4 separate regions of the Homo sapiens genome follow, and all the other regions are linked to region 2. Evidence: promoter capture Hi-C in 16 types of primary human blood cells and fetal thymus (Javierre and others, 2016). All regions are on one chromosome and are shown on one strand. The core of a region is centred on a gene start or on the middle of the fragment in contact, and the rest is flanking DNA. Distances in the headings are between cores, read along the strand shown.

What was found. The method cuts DNA at HindIII sites, captures the fragments that hold promoters and counts their contacts. A CHiCAGO score of 5 or more calls a contact.
Region 1: a fragment that was not itself captured here is called in contact with the fragment with the promoter of NDUFAF4 in region 2 in 9 of 17 cell types (naive CD8 T cells, fetal thymus, non-activated CD4 T cells and 6 more); the score reaches 16.2 in naive CD8 T cells.
Region 3: a contact is called between a fragment that was not itself captured here and the fragment with the promoter of NDUFAF4 in region 2, in 5 of 17 cell types (total CD8 T cells, naive CD4 T cells, naive CD8 T cells and 2 more). The highest score is 7.1, in total CD8 T cells.
Region 4: a fragment that was not itself captured here is called in contact with the fragment with the promoter of NDUFAF4 in region 2 in 1 of 17 cell types (M2 macrophages); the score reaches 5.5 in M2 macrophages.

The regions. Positions count from the first base shown.
Region 1 is chr6:95,590,254-95,593,030 of GRCh38, reverse strand. The region is part of intron 2 of MANEA (mannosidase endo-alpha); the gene reads right to left. Among named protein-coding and RNA genes, the nearest start is that of MANEA, 14 kb to the right of the region's middle. The HindIII fragment of the contact is 1,877 bases long and covers 470-2,346 here.
Region 2 is chr6:96,896,580-96,899,279 of GRCh38, reverse strand. NDUFAF4 (NADH:ubiquinone oxidoreductase complex assembly factor 4) reads left to right here and starts at 1,389. Exons shown (of 3, transcript NM_014165.4): 1 at 1,389-1,614; 2 at 2,433-2,536. The coding sequence starts at 1,479. It also overlaps a transcript of KLHL32 not described here. RefSeq lists an enhancer at 1,467-1,566. The HindIII fragment of the contact is 8,617 bases long and covers 1-2,700 here.
Region 3 is chr6:95,564,250-95,567,210 of GRCh38, reverse strand. The region is part of intron 2 of MANEA-DT (MANEA divergent transcript); the gene reads left to right. Among named protein-coding and RNA genes, the nearest start is that of MANEA-DT, 12 kb to the left of the region's middle. The HindIII fragment of the contact is 4,478 bases long and covers 1-2,961 here.
Region 4 is chr6:95,434,857-95,437,556 of GRCh38, reverse strand. No RefSeq gene overlaps it. Among named protein-coding and RNA genes, the nearest start is that of MANEA-DT, 140 kb to the left of the region's middle. The HindIII fragment of the contact is 2,095 bases long and covers 238-2,332 here.

The sequences.
Region 1 (2,777 bases), core at 159-2,658, 1.3 Mb after region 2:
ATTAGCAAACTAAATGCAAAAACTCATGTCATGTTGCTCATGTCACCCCTCCATGCCACTTATTACAGGACCTTCAATATAATTGATAGTCAATTTTTTTTGTTGTTAGTAAAGTGATGCATTCAAATAGGATAACAGTTAAGAATATAGGGTATAAAAATCAGATAGGCCTAGAGAATCGAGTTCTTATTCTGTTATTTGATAGATGAGTATCTTTAGGTAAGTTATTTTACTTAAGTTTCCACATCTGTAAAATGTAGGATAAGGCCTGTTTTAAAAAGCACAAATGAGAGAATGCATCATGCAGAGTAAAACACCTAAAAAGTGATTATAAATAACACTTAATAACAAGAAGACAGTATAATGATGGATAAATTTGGATACCTTGAGCCCCAGAAAACTTGTTATGTGTTCATAGGAAATTTAGAGCTTCTTTTGAACATCTCAAACATTCTTTCAAACTAAAGCTTTAAGAGAAAAAAAGGCAAGCTCATTTCTAGACGTAACACAATTTTCACTATCTTACCCAGGGTGACATACTTTTAACAAAATTTTACAAGGTACAGAAAAAAAAGCAAGAAAAACAATTCACTGACAAGAAACAAAGCAATCAATAGAAACAGACTCACAAATGAGATACGTTGGAATCATCAGAGAGAGAATATAAAATTACTGTAATGAATATCTTAAAGGATCTAATGGACAAAGTAGCTAACACACAAGATCTGGCAAATTTCAGCAGAGATATGGGAACTATAAGAACAAATAAAACAGAAATGCCAGGAATGAAAGACTACTTAAAAAGATGAATTAATGCCTTTAATAGGCTCATTAACAGAGCTGAGGAGATAATCAGGAAACTTCAAGGCAAGTCAAAAGAAATTACCTTATCCAAATTACCATAATGAGAAAAAAGACTGGGGAAAACAATAGAACAATGCATTTAACAGTTGCGAGATAAATATCAAAGTTCTAGTACACATGTAATTGGAAACCCAGAAGTAGGAGGTTTATTTGAAAAAATAATCAGGCTGGACACGGTGGCTGACGCCTGTAATCCTAGCACTTTGGGAGGCCCAGGCAGGTGGATAACGAGCTCAGGAGATCGAGACCATACTGGACAACATGGTGAAACCTTGTCTCTACTAAAAGTACAAAAATTAGCTACGCGTGGTGGAGCACATCTGTAGTCCCAGCTACTTGGGAGGGTGAGGCAGGAGAATTGCTTGAACCCAGGAGGCAGAGGTTGCAGTGACAGTGAGCTGAGATCAGGCCACTGCACTCCAGCCTGGGCGACAGGGTGGGACTCCATCTCATAAAACAATAACAATAATCACTAAGAATTTAGCAAAATTAATAAAAGACACAAAGCAACAGATTAAAAATTCAGAGAACACCAAGAAGGATAAATAACAAAAAATAACAGGAGTAACAAGTAACCATACCATGTTTAGACTGCTAAAAAACAAAATAGAAAAAAGAAAAAAAGAAAAAAATTAAATGCAGCCAGAAAACAACAACAGCAACAACAAAACATATCCATCCAAGAAAATGAGGATATAAAAAGATTTTTTTAAATTACGGCAGACTACTCATCAGAAACCATGAAAGACTGAAGAAAAAGAAGAAAAAAAGAAATGGAATACATTTTCAAAATTCCAAAAGAAAACAATCCCCTAAAACCTGCCCATTGAGAATTCCATAGGTGATGAAACATCTTTCAAAATAAAGGCTACAAACAAAATTTGAAAATATTCATTGCAAGGAGACCAGTAAAACAAGATAAAAGAAATTTTTAAGAGAGAAAGAATATGATATTAGACATACACTTGGATCTACATTAAAATATGGATGGGGAACAGTAGAAATGGAATAAATGTAAAAAACATTCTTACTTTTAATCACTGTGAAAAACAACTGATTATTGAAAAGAGTGATCAGCAAACTATGACCCATCGGCCAAATCTTGCCTTTTACAGGCCAATTCATCTATATATTTGTCTATCTATTGCTTATAACCATTTTCACACTATAAGGATAGAGCTGAGTGGTTGCAAAGAGAGAGAGTGAGGGACTCACAAAATCAAAAATATATATTAGGCAGTCCTTTACAGAAAATGCTTGCCAACCTCTGGCCTACAGCAATGATAGTAAAATACCATTTCTTATGTGACAGAATTACGACAATAGCAAACTATGGGAGGGAAACATAGGGAATATCAGTGGTGAAGACCTTACATTACACATTAAGTATATATTATTTGCAAGTAGACTGTCTCCTTGCAATGAATACTTTCAAATTTTTTTTGTAGCCAAAGGTTGGGCATCTATAGCAATATGAAAGCTTTATGGAATATCACCACTCTACAGTTATAAATATAACCTTTAAACTTAATGCAAATAGTTATTATAAAAGGAAATTTTATGACATCATATTAGATGTTATTAGGTACATTTAAACTTTATGTGTCTAATTCATCTCATTGTGACTTCTACTTTTATGTATAAATTTTTAAAGGCAGGAGATGCAGAAGTAAGAATTGTAACCTTACTAAAACAAATATGTCATACTTTCAGGAAATATTCTAATGTTGAAATCCATCCAGTGTTTTTAAAGCAACAATGATGAAAACAAAGGAACTGGGAAATGTGACTTGCTCATTTTTATGTCCCTAGAATCTAGCACAAGCTTGGAACGTCATGGAAAATCAATAAATATTTAGTGCTAAACTGAAACAATGGGAAGATAATTTTAAAGTCATAGAGTACATTATGTT
Region 2 (2,700 bases), core at 140-2,639:
TCAAAGATAGAAATCTTGGAGCAGCCTGCCACCTTCAGGATAACTTCCCAGTTAATGCTATCTGAGATCACTGATTTCAGCTTCTATAAATTCCAAATACCAATCCCTGTAAAAATGTTCAGTATAATTAAATAAAGGGCATTTAAATTAGAGTGGCTGAAGCCGTCTTCCTTGCAGTGCTTTTGCTCTGATTAAGCATTATACTTAATGATTACATTAGTTTTCTTTTTAAAAAACTTTCCCTTTCTTCATTTTGGTTCTTTGATTCTTGTTTTATTATTATTATTCTATTCGATTATCTTTACATCAATATTTTCTTACTTTAAGCTGGTTAAAAACATCCACTCTACTTCATTTTGCTAAGCAGAGATCAGAACACTAAAAATAGATTTTGCAGCCACAGTAAGAGAAATACTGTAACTTCCTTCCTACTGCTTCCTTCCTGGTGGGTTTTATTTTAGATTAATAACAATATTTCTAAAGGGTCTTAAATAAAAGCAGCACTACAGTAACCCATTCAGGAAATGGAGAGAGACGGAGAAGGTGAATGTAACACTCGTTTTTTTGTTTGTTTGTTTTTTTTTTCTGACGTCTTATTGTCTGTTCCTTTCATTAAATTACACAGAGGCTTAAAAAGAATGAAGAAGGCAAGAGAGAAGAGAAATAGGAGAGGGAATGACTCAGCATTTAGTAGCATGGAGAAGTAAATTAGTAGCAAAAATAAGATAAGGGAAAGTATAACTAAAATCGATACCATTAGGTCAAATGAGAACGGGATGTAAAAAATAATGGAAAAAGAATACAGTGGCTTGAAAATGCATCAGGCGGGGGGACAGGAAAATAAGAGGCATTTAAATGAGAGCGGCTGAGAACAAATACTCATCGAAAGGGAACATCCTTTCATTATTTTCCTTTCACAAAAGCAGGAAAGGGCAACTTGAGAGCCCAGTTTGACCCTGGTTCAGTAAGTTCCATTTTTATCGGCTAACTCTTTGGTGGCATTGCCCTGTGAAACAACTTCAAGGTCAACTTCCTTACGACTTTGATTTTCAGCTCTTCACTGAAACTTTGGAATCACGTGGAGTCTTATCCAATGCTGGGCCTCACTCCACAAGAATTAAATCAGAAAGTCTGGGGTAGGGCCCGGCACAGAACTTTACAGAGCTTCCCGGGTGACTCCCTCGGAGTTCCAGCGTTAAAAGCAACCGTGGGTCTGGGGACTTAAGCCCCGCCACCTCCCGCCGGAAGCGGCCCTCGTGGGAGCCGTCACTCGCCCCGAAGGGAGGGGCTCCCTTTTAAATGCCCTGGGCAGAGAAGCGGTGTGTGGCCTCCCGAGCGCTAGGGGGCGACGGGCACGCATTTAAGCGCCCGCGGCGGGGCTTCCCCTCACTTGTGCGCATGCTCCGGGTGTCCCGGAGTTGTCCTGCGCCGGTGTTCCCACGTGCGGCCTGAACCTGAGCGCATAATGTTATGAGGAGATGGGAGCACTAGTGATTCGCGGTATCAGGAATTTCAACCTAGAGAACCGAGCGGAACGGGAAATCAGCAAGATGAAGCCCTCTGTCGCTCCCAGACACCCCTCTACCAACAGCCTCCTGCGAGAGCAGATTAGTCGTGAGTGGTGCGAGGGCGTTTCGGGGCCCGGGGGCGCGGAGTCCCTGTGCTGCCCGGCTGTCCCTAGCGTGGGTCCGGAGGCCGAGGGATCGGCGTCAGCCTGCTCGGCCGCAGCCGCTCGGGTTGGCGGAGCGTTGGAAGGGGGAGCCGCCAGGCCGGTGACATTGAGACTGTCCTCCGCGCCCGCGGTGAGGTCGGCGGCCCCGCCTACTTCCGAGACCCAGAGGCAGCAGCCAGTGCTCCCGCTAACCAGGCCCTCGCCGGCTGCTGTCACGGACTTGATACAGGGAATCAAAATCCGAGAGGGTCACAGAGCTTTCTCTAGGGGTCTTCACTGGACGATGGACGCAGAGCCTGACCTGGAATTTTGATTTCCATCTAAAGTATTTTCCTAACAGTCCAAATGATTATGTTTATTTTTTAAAAAAATTAAAGTGGTTAGGCCGGGCGCGGTAGCTCAAGCCTGTAATCTCAGCACTTTGGGAGGCCGAGGCGGGCAGATCACCTGAGGTCAGGAGTTCGAGACCAGCCTGGCCAACATGGCTAAACCCCGTCTCTACAAACAATGCAAAAATTAGCCGGGCGTGGTGGCGCGCCTGTAGCCTCAGCTTGTCGGGAGGCTGAGGTGGGAGAATCTCTCGAACCCGGGAGGCGGAGGTTGCAGGGAGCCGAGATCGCGCGACTGCACTCCAGTCTGGGCAACAGAGCGAGACTCCGACTCAAAAAAGAAAATAAAAGAAAGCGTTTGTGTTAAGCGTTTAGGATATTACAGGAAATTTTCCTTGATTTTAATATTGTGACTTTTTTCCTTTCCTTAGTCTATCCAGAAGTTAAAGGAGAGATTGCTCGTAAAGATGAAAAGCTGCTGTCGTTTCTAAAAGATGTGTATGTTGATTCCAAAGATCCTGTGTCTTCCTTGCAGGTAAATGTGTGTTTAATTAAGTGAATACACAATTTACTTATTTTGGGGCTTCAGGAAAATGATTAAGTGTGGCAAGTAGTAAAAAGAGTGCTCTGCAAGTGTGTGTTGTGATCAATCTACACGCCTTGGCAAAGTTTAAGCACACTGGTGTAAGACAGCAAGAC
Region 3 (2,961 bases), core at 3-2,502, 1.3 Mb after region 2:
TATCTACCGTGGTGCAGGAAGTGTCCATTTGAACGTGTAGAGTTAGCTGCCTAGTCAGTTGAGTTTAAGCACAAATCTTTGAGACCTAGGAGTATGGACCTTTTTATTAAAAATTGTCCTTAAATATTTTCTGAATTAGTAACTTTTATATTGCCAATTCATCTTAGTAAGAAAATCTACTAGGGCAAGAGGACAGTCTTATAAAATCCTGTGTAGATCTCTAATGTCTCATTAGAATACATGGGAGAGTCATAAAAAGAAGAAATAAAGGTACTCAATATCTATAAAAGTAGTTTTGAGTCCTGAAAGGACAAAGGCCATGGCATTAAGATGACTGATAATATCCAGTTGTAGCCAGGATGTGGAATATGTATACTCTCACATTTTATTGGTGGGAATACTAATTGGTAGAACCTTCTTGAAGGGAAATTTGGCTGCACTACTCTTTGAGTGAGCTATTCTATATTTAGCTATTTTTCCTACAAAATTATACCCATAATGAGAAAAAACTGCACACAGTGATCTCTCTTTGTAAATGACATGAAAAGATGTCCATATATAGTTTTTAAGAAGAATGAATTTGCAAAATTATGTAGATAGCTATGTAAAGATATATCTGTATCAATTTTATATGGTTGGCATAATAAATTACCACAAGTTAAGTGGCTTAAGCAATGCAAATTTATTATCTCACAGTTCTGTAGGTCAGAAGTCAGACATGGGTCTCTCTATGCTAAAATCAAGGTGTCATCAGGGTTGCCTTGCTTACTGGAGGTTCTTGGGGAGATTGTTTCCTTGCTTGTTCAATTATTTTTTTTGGCAGATTTCAGTTGTATAACTGAGGTATATGTTTTCTTGCTGGCTATATATTGAAGGCAGTTTCCAGTTCCTAGGGGCCTCCATGTTATCTGGCTCATGGCTCTATGCCTCCATTGTCAAAGCCAGCAATGTCAGATCCAATTCTTCTCATATCACATTTATCCGACCCACTCATCTGCTTTCCTCTTTCACATTTAAGGATATCAGATTATATTGTGTCCAACTGAATAATCCAGGATAACCAACCCATCTCAAAATCTTTAACCTCAACCACATGTGCAAAGCTCCCTTGTCATGTAAAGTAACATAGTCACAGGTTTTGGGCAATAGGATGTGTACATATTTGGGGGCCCATTATTCCACCTACCCCAGTATCTGTAAGTACGTTTAATATAAATTATATTATGTAAATATATAGGCATATACAAATATGTATACATACAGGAATGAGGAGAGAGAGAGAGAGAACATCAACAACAAAAAACAAATGTATATGTGTCTAAATTTTTAGAAATAAACATACCAAACACTTTAACAGTGTTTTTCATAGAAAGTGGGTTTCAGTTTTTATATATACTTTTAAGAATGGTTTGTATTTGTACGACAAGCACACATTAATATTGCACTTTAAAAGGTAAAAAAAAAATTAATTGATCAATTAGGCTCAAGCACTTGATCAAATTCAGTTGCTATATTTCCTAGTATAAACACCTAGGGAAAGAAACAATCTCTAAGTAAAATATGTGTTCCATGAATTATTCATCAAAATAAATGGCAGACTTCACTGTAGGTGTTATGCTCTAAATTGAAGAAATTAACCTTTAAAGTATTGATTGGCTGAATTGCTGCATGTCTAAATAGAGTGGCAATTCTCAGTACATAATAATCATAACAGTACTACTACTAACTCCTGCAATCATAGTAAAAATATAAAAATAGTTTCTTTTATATTTTATCACTCTCAAAACATTTTCAATTACATTACTCTTATAAATTCTGAAAACAATCTTTAATATTAAGTAGGCAGCATAGAAAATTATCACATTTTGGAAGGAAAAATATTCAGAGGACCTAGATAAGACTTGCTCAAGGTCCAATAGGCCAAAATTGTGCAGAACCAAAATATGTACTTAGATTATCTGTTTTAGGATATATGTACAATATAAAAATATAAGACTTCTTCCCTCATGAAGTTAACAGTCTATGAAGGGGGATAAGACATGCATGTAGATGGCTTCACTCAAAGCAAAAAGTCATGAGTGTTATTTAAAAGGGTTCCAATGAAGTGTTGTAAGAGTTCAGAGAAAAGTTATTTGGAGGGGGCGGTTACTCACACAAGTACTATTTATACTGGGTATTAAATAATAACTAATTATGGAATATTTTCTATAAACAAGAATGGAGTAGTAGTGTGAAAGTATCAAAGCAGGATTGAACAAGAGTGGCTCTTTTGGAGGTAATGGCAAGGAGAAGCCAGAGAGAACCAAGAGTTATTGTGCAATTAGAATGAGCAGCAGAAGACAAATGAGAGAAAAGAATCAAAGGTGACTCTATATTGTTCATTCTAGATATATAGGCTAATGGAGTTGCTGGCAAGGCATGGGAAACATTTTCTCACCTTCTCTGACTTCTCAAACCTACTGTACAATTGTTACTGCCCCCAGCACTCCTCAGGAATTGCTTTTCACAAAGTCTCCAGTGATTTCCTTGCACTAAATATATTTTCAGTCTATACCATACTTGATATCTTGGCTATATTCAGCTCTATACTCAGCTCCATCCATCTTGAACATTTTCTCCCTCTAGTTTCCTTGACCTCACATTCTCCAATTTGACATTAGGCATCCATGTAAAGCGCTTACTGCACTCAATCCTCTGTGCACACCCACATGTTCTAAACATATTATATTGGGTCCTAATATTATTTCTCTTACTTTTCTTAAACTCCACAATTCCCCTGTAGACTTCTCTTTCTTGGTCTAGATCTTAAATAGACTCTCTTCTGTCTAGGCGCTCTCTCATATGACACATACTCACTGTTGGAAGTCTCTTTTCATTTTCATGCCTTCAATAACCACTTTGTGCTCTTCTGGTCCATATCTCAGTGGAAAGTATCCTTATACATCTTATAGATCAAGACAT
Region 4 (2,700 bases), core at 36-2,535, 1.5 Mb after region 2:
TCGCCTGAATATAAACTTCTTTAAAAGTTTTTAATCACGGATTAATGGTATACAGAACTGTTGATTTCTATATGTTCATCTTGTATGTGGTCACTTAATTATCTTCTTAGTTATAATAGTATTTCTGTTAACTCTCTTTTCTAGATACACAATACAGTAATAACATCTGCAAAAAAACTTGTTTCAGTATTTAATGTTTATAAATAATATTTTTTGATTATGTAAGTAATATAAGCTTACTGCAAAAAAATGAAAAAACACAGAAAAATATGTAGAGATGTCTTGTCAATATTTAATGTACACATTTCCAGAAAGTTGGTATTGTTTCATTTTAATAAAATCCTGTTATTTCCAACAACGTTGATGAATTGGAGGATATTATGTTAAGTGAAATAAGCCAGGCACTGAAAGACATTCTCACTAATATGTGGGAGCTAAAAAAAAATATATTGAACTCCTGGAGATAAAGAATAGAATGATGTAAAATGCCAGAGGCTAGGAAGGGTAGCTTGGGGGAAGGACAAAGAGGGGATGATTAATGCGTACATACATACAGTTGGAAAGAAGAAATAAGATTGAGTGTTCTGTAGTACAATAGAACAACAACAGATAACAATAATTTATCGGACACTTAAAAATAACTAAAAGGATGGCACTGGAATGTTCCTGACACAAAGGAACATTGTGTTGAAGTGATGAATATCCCAGTTACCCTGATTTGATCATTACACATTTTTTGCTGTGTCAAAATATCAGGTGTACCCCATAAATATTTACAACTATTATGTATACGTAGTAAATACAAATTTAAAAAATAAAAATACATCTCTAACATATCCAAAGCTGGTAAAGAAAGGGAGTGAAAGCCATTTCATTTGCCTTAGGCAAAAGGATCTTTACTGCATTGCTAATATTCCCTATTGACAGCTTAGTAATAGCTATCAAAAATTTTATGACTATACCTTTGACTCAGCTATTTTACCTTTAAGATTTCTTCTGAGCAAAAACCTCATAAATTTGCACAAAAATTATCTACAACTATGTTTATGGTAATAGTTTGAATAAAATTGGCTACCGTTCACTCAGTGCTTACTATGTGCCAAGTATTATGCTAAAACTTTTATGTACATCACCTCATTTCAACCTTGTAAAAACCTCATTGCCCCTTTCTTTTTAATTTCCATTAACAGGGAAGACTATTTAGGCTTAGATCTTAGGTGAGTTAGTCAAGAATACACAAACAATAAGTGTGTAAGTTAAAGTCATCCATCTCCAGAACCTGATAAAACAACAAAAGGGAAAAGGAAAAACAACTTAAACCATTTTTTAAAGGTACATTATAGCATATTAAACAATGGATTGTTATGAAGACATCTGCAAGTGACAATGCAAAGAAAAAATTAAGACATTGTAAAAATGTTCCCTAAAAGTTTGATCATATATACTTTGTAATCTAAGTGTTGATAAAATATACAATAAAATATTAATAGGCAGAAAATAAAATTGGGTGAATACTAAATATTTTATACATTTATATTTTCTTAATTATATATTGTAATACTTTCCATTTCATTCAATGATTACTTAGTATTTTATGTATGGATAATAAAATATACTTGATATTATGTTGAACCTTTAGGCTTTCTAATATTTCTCGTGATAAACAGTGCTGTAACGAGCATCCTTAAAAGTACTATTTGATCACATTAGTCTTGTATATTATTTTTATACAAATGAATTTTAAAATGCTGTAAAACACCTCTATATAATTATCTCAGTTTGAGGCTTTCATAGATGTTTCATTATCTATTTGTATATTTTAGTACCAGAATAACATTAGTTATATTATAGCTTCTCTATGATAAATTTTAGCATGTTTGTAACACAAGATCCTCATTATTATTTTTATTTTAATATGTACTATGCTTTCTCATCAATTTATGGTTTAATAAAATATTTAGAAATAGTTTTCAAAAATTTTAATGGTGATGTTAATTGGCATGTCTACTGCATAAATGTATCATGTATTTTTATTTCACTTGTTGACATGATAATTTTCATTTATCAGTGCTTTTTAATGTCAAAGTTTCATGTTAGGTTAATTCATCAAAAGTTGACATATTTGTTGCTATCATTAAAGTGTCTAATTTTAAATTTTATCTAATTTATTTTGAAATACTGGAAAAATGCTTATTAAATTTTTAATAGTTTATTGGTTGATTCTTCTGGGTTTGTTAGGAAATGTCAAATCATCTGTTAATATTAATGATGTTTTGTTCCAAGTCTTTTCTTGACTAGCACATAAAAAACACCGCTAAATGATGCAAAAGCTTTGGCTGTCTTGTTCTTGACTAAAATGGAAATGTATTTGATGTTTGAGCTGATGCAATTTGTTGCCTTTAATTTACTATAGAATTTTAACATATTTTATTATGTTAATAGATTTCTAAATATTAAACCGTTTTGCATTTCTAGATAAAAATGCTACTTTTCTTCAGTGTATTTAATATATTGCTAAACTCCACTTGCCAATGTTTTTTGAATAACATTTTCATCATTTGTTTGTATTCAGATTTCTTTTTTTTTTTTTTTTTGAGACGGAGTTTTGCTCTTGTTGCTCAGGCTGGAGTACAATGGCACGATCTCGGCTCACGGCAATCTCCGCCTCCCGAGTTCAAGCCATTCTCCAGCCTCAGCCTC